Regions from separate parts of the Homo sapiens genome. Here region 2 is linked to region 1. The links are contacts of gene promoters, found by promoter capture Hi-C in human tissues and cell types (Jung and others, 2019). All regions are on one chromosome and are shown on one strand. The core of a region is centred on a gene start or on the middle of the fragment in contact, and the rest is flanking DNA. Distances in the headings are between cores, read along the strand shown. Region 1 holds the start of CEP70 (centrosomal protein 70). Region 2 has its middle 38 kb from the start of MRPS22.

Region 1 (2,671 bases), core at 66-2,565:
GTGGTCCTGATTTCTCCAAGTAGACATCTGGAAAATCACGTTAGTATGAATTTGAAGTCTACCCTTTTTTTTTTTTACAACAAAGCAGAGACTAATAGCAACTGGGTCCTTGTTAACTTGCTTAGCCACTGAATTAATCAAAGTCTCCCTTGCCTCTGAGCTTTCTGTTATGCGAGATAAGCAACTTCTTTATTTTTTAGGAAGACAGTTTAACTCAGATTCTATATCACGTGCATCCAAAATAATAATAACTGACTCAAAGATGTTTGGCCTCTACAATTAGGGCAGCCATTCTCAGAAGAGTATGCAAGGGCACCCTATTATCTTGGAAAAGGGAAGCACTGAGACTATTTGCATTTTGAGAACTGAAAATGCAATCTGCTAACCGTCGTTAGAGTGAATATCCAGGTATGGAAAGCACAGTGGGTAGGCGTAGGTTGGGGTAGGGACATGTTTGCATGGGGCAAACACAGAGATCAAACCTAAGTGTAGTCCCAGCTGCCTGGAAGAAGGCTAAGAAGGGTCTGAAAGTATTGAGCTCCAAGAGCCCTTGGATCTCCTGATGAGAGACCCTTGGCTGATGCCCTAGATGGGACATCCCTGTTGGCTACTGTGGGACCTGCATCATTTGACTGCAACACAGTCTGTTGCAACATTTGACTGTAACACAGACCTACATCATTTGACTGATTTGAAAAGACAAGTTGTCAACAGCGACACCATGTGGCTATAAGATACAATGACAATGGTGGACAGCTACAGCCTCAGGTAGGGCCTGACGCTTCGTCGAGATGTGGAAAATGCTGAATGGGAAGATGAACTGTCGTCAACAAATATTTATTGGGGTCCTCCAAATGTCAGCTGCTACAGTGGTCATTCAGGTCTGGAACATCGAGAACATGCTGACCCGTACCCCAGCAAGGGCTCGTAGTCGCGGCGGGGTAGGGGGCGAGAGAGAGGGCAGTCTCTGGTGGCCAGGTAACCCAGGCTTCACTTTCACCCACGGCCACAAGTATTTCTGACGTCTTCCGGGCAAATAAGCCTCCATGTAAGTGACAGGGCACCCAAGGAGTGCGTTGGAAGCGCCAGCGTGCCCGAGACCAGCACATCGCACCGACGCCTTCGTTTGCGGTAAGCCCCGCCCCCCGTAGTGAGCCAACCGGAGGGAGCGGGGCGGACCCAGCTTCCCGGAGAGGCTGGAGAGAATCGTTTGGGGGCATTCGCAGGCCAAAGAGGGGCTGGCCCTCGACGCGCTCGGGCTCGATTGGCCGCCCTCCCCCGGCGGTGGTAACGGTCGCGGAGGCGGGGCCTGACGTAGCTGATCCCAGCCTAACCTGGCCCGGCTGGCTGCTGGTGGGAGGCCGGCGACTGAGTAAGGTGAGTGGCTCTCGGGGCTCTCAGAGGCGTCGGCGTGAGCCCCTTCCCGGAGTACCCCGGACTTGACCTCACCTGGGCCTAAAAGTGGTCAGACTGACCCTTGTCGGGGAGGAGCCATCTGGGACAGGGTCGCGCCAATTAAAAATCCCTGCGTAAGGGTTTGGGGATCGGACAAAACTGCCTCCAGTCCCAGCTCCCCAGGCTTTGTGTTCTTTGGCTTCTCCTTTAATGTCTCAGCGCCTCCGATTCTTTATTTGTATACTAAAGCTGGTAATTCTTGCCTTACAAGGTGGTTGTGAGGGTTAAATGAGGCAGTAAGAGTAAAGCTTAGAATCACGTCGGGCACAGACTCGATTTAAGCTGTAGGTAATTACTCCATCCCCCAAAATCGACCCGGGCTGAAGCGCTAGTTTTGTGTCAAACAACCGCGAAGGTTGTTTGGGGAGTGAGGACTCGGAGCAGAAGGGGGCGGTTAGGCGAATAGCACAGGTGAGTATCTCTTTCTCCAGTTTATTAACCTCATTCCGGATTCAGGAGACCTCTGACTTTATACAGGGCCTAATAGGAGTTTTTCAAGGTGAAAAATGCCAGAAGGCTAAGTCACCTGTAACAGAGAGACCAATCAGAGTTTCCTTTTTTACTGCCACTTTGTTTTTCAATCAATGATATTAAACAGGCAGGGCGCAGTGGCTTACGCCTGTAATCTCAGCACTTTGGGAGGCCGAGGTGGGCGGATCCCCTGAGGTCAGGAGTTCGAGACCACCCTGGCCAACATGATGAAACCACGTCTCTACTAAAAATACAAAAATTAGCTGGGCATGGTGGTGTGCGCCTGTAATCCCAGCTACTCGGGCGGGTGAGGCAGCAGAATCGCTTGAACTCGGGAGGCGGAGGTTGCTGTGAGCCGAGATCGCGCCACTGCACTCCAGCCTGGGTGACGGAGCGAGACTCTGTCTCAAAAATATATGTATAATATATTAAACTCTGTGCAGGCATTACCCATATTGGTTTCAAGCCTCTGCATGAGTTTTGTACTTTAAATATTGCCAAGTAGACTCTGGCCTCCCCTGCCCCGCCTTTTGGGGAAGAGGTGGCTGACTTGGAGTTTTCCCTACAGCTTTTGCTTCAAAGCAAGGTTCTGCCCCTTCATGTCACCTCTCCTGAGACAGAATGATTTGGTTGAGATGACATTCCATTTTAACTCTTTCCTATTTGGGGTAAGTTCAGCTCTTTCTTAGGAACATTAAACAGCAAGTTGCAATATTTTTAGAATAGAGCTTTTGCATTTAATAAG
Region 2 (2,671 bases), core at 111-2,610, 710 kb before region 1:
AGAGTCCTGAGGAGCCTGAGGGTTCTTGGAGGGCTTCCTGGAGGAGGTGAGGGACTAGATAAAAATAGCAGGATGGGCACTCCGGGTATGAGAAGGGGCTCAGGCAAAAACCCAAGGCCACCAGGGAGAAGCTATGTTCAGAGAAGGGCAGTTCATAGAGTGGGACTCGGCCATGGGGAACATCTAAAGGAGTCAAATGCCAGCCTTGCTGCCCTAGCAAGTCAGCACCAACTTACAGGTAACAATGCTGCTGTAATTTGCATTAAAAACACCTTTCCCCTGGAGTAGGAAGCTGTTTCAGGATTTTCCCATGCTGCCCAAATGCATTGGCCATGCTACTGACCCCCATCTCGCCCCTGGCCCCCTCCCCTGCTGGTTTCCAGTACTTTCAGAGGCTGCTACAGCCCAAGAGAAAGATGTGCTCTGGGATAACTCCTCACTGCTGTCTGTGGGCCACCGCCTCATACCCTGCCAGTACCTAGGCCCTGGCCTGGAACAGGATTTCTAAGGCCACAGTCTTGATTTCATTTGTCCTGGGTAGATGCAGGGGCTTGGCCAGTTGTGAGACCCTATACAATGATCAGTTCTTAGAGAGATTTGTCACCTAGAAAAGCCAGATAACACCCTGAGCAGCCAGTTCCCAGGGACATGGCCCTGGCCCAGGTTTTCCCCCTGGAGTGCCCCCTCCCTTCATTCTTCCCCATTTTTCATCCTTCCTTTCAGCTGGCTAACTCTAGCCCTTCCAGACCAAGCTGACATGTCACCTCTCCCAAGAAGACTTTCTGAGCCCCCATCCCCAGTACCCCAGGGGAGTCAGACACACTTTCTCTGTGCTCCCCTCTATGGCCCTTATCAAGCAACACAGTCACTGTCTGTTTACTTAGTGATCTCCCCAGAGATCCCGACAGCTCTTCCTGTGGCCCGGACTCCCCACAGAGCCTATGCACCAGCTATTTATTGCTGCCTAACAAATTATCCCAGAACCTAGTGACTCAAATCTACAATAGTTATATTTTACCTCCAAGGTTTCCAGAGGTCAGGAATTTAGCACAGATGGGACACTTTGTCCACAATGTCTGGGCCTGAGCTAGGGTCTGGGACCATCTGAAGGATCATTCACAATGTGTGGTGGTTGATGCTGCCTATTGACTGCAGGACTACCTGGGCCTCTCCATGTGACCTGAGCTTCCTCCCAGCATGGCATCTGGGTTCCAAGAGCAAGCATCCCAAAAGAGAGTGTGGGGTTGTGGGGAGAAAGAGAGAGAGAGGGAAACAACTGGAATCTGTATCCTTTTTATGACCTAAAATCAGAAGTCATATAATAGCACTTCTACCATATTCTATTGGCCAAAGCAGTCATACACACCCATCCAGATTCAAGGGGAGTAAATGCAGGTCCCCCTAGGTGGAAGGAGTGTCCGTCACCCTGCAAGAAAGGCATATGGGGTGAGATAAACATAGGGCATGGCTATCTTTGGAAAAAATAATATGTCACAATCTGTTACCAATAGATGCTCAACGAAGGGCTGTTGAGTGAATGAATGAATGAATGATCCTTTCTCTGCACTATCCATCTCCCCTCTGTCCTCAGACAGTTCTTCTCAGTTCAGAATCCAACTAACTCTGACAATCCCAAGCGCCAGGTCATAGCCCCTCTTTCTGTTTTGGAAGCCAAGGGGCCATGAACTCCCTCCCAGCTCCAAAGTTGTCAGAATTGTCCCCAGAGTTTCAGGGTGTTCACTGTGGTTTTCAGAAACAGGGCAATAATGTCGAGAATTAGAGAGGCCACCAGAGCAGAACCGGGAGGCAGTTTCCTTGCTGATCCACAGACACAGTTTTAGGAGGAAGATCTAAGGAATTAAACATTAGGGGAAAGCTTCTTTTAAAGGTTTTCAAGATTTAAATAACTGTCTTCAGCTATTTTTTTTTAGGAGAAAAAGAACTACTTGTACTATCTGATAATATTTTTCGAGCTCTAATTTTGGTTTTTTTTTTTTTTTTTTTTTTTTTTTGAGATGGAGTCTCACTCTGTCGCCCAGGCTGGAGCGCAGTGGCGCGATCTCGGCTCACTGCAAGCTCCGCCTCCCAGGTTCACGCCATTCTCCTGCCTCAGCCTCCTGAGTAGCTGGGACTACAGGCGCCCGCCACCACGCCTGGCTAATTTTTTGTATTTTTAGTAGAGATGGGGTTTCACCGTGTTAGCCAGGATGGTCTCGATCTCCTGACCTCATGATCCGCCTGCCTCGGCCTCCCAAAGTGCTGGGATTACAGGCACGAGCCACCGCGCCGGGCCCTGAGTTCTAATTTTTTAGTAACTATTATTTGCTTTCACAGTTTTTCTAATTAATAAGAGAATGCATTGAGACTTTACAAAGAGCCAGACTCTGTGCTAAGTGCTTTAGAGACGCTATTTCTGTAATGGGTCAAAAACTACTGATGTATCAGCATTCAGAGGCTTCCTCCACTTGCCATATTCGAATGCAAATCAGCTCATCAATGGGGAGAGAACAGAAAAACCCTTCAGTGAGTGAGGGTTTTTTGGAGTAGGTACAGGATATGGGAGAAGTGAGGTGAGGAGGAGAGCATCTTTCAGAATCATTGTGGTGGTTACGCAAGAGATCTCCTGTAATGTTATTCAAGAGAAGCAACAAAGATTGAAGAAGTACTTTTT

What was found. Contacts are between HindIII fragments. The study calls those that stand out against the background at their distance.
Region 2: a contact is called between a fragment that was not itself captured here and the fragment with the promoter of CEP70 in region 1, in 1 of the 25 tissues and cell types used here (bladder).

The regions. Positions count from the first base shown.
Region 1 is chr3:138,592,904-138,595,574 of GRCh38, reverse strand. CEP70 (centrosomal protein 70) reads left to right here and starts at 1,315. Exons shown (of 18, transcript NM_024491.4): 1 at 1,315-1,377. RefSeq lists an enhancer at 1,051-1,110. The HindIII fragment of the contact is 13,008 bases long and covers 1-2,671 here.
Region 2 is chr3:139,304,501-139,307,171 of GRCh38, reverse strand. No RefSeq gene overlaps it. Among named protein-coding and RNA genes, the nearest start is that of MRPS22, 38 kb to the left of the region's middle. The HindIII fragment of the contact is 4,198 bases long and covers 1-2,671 here.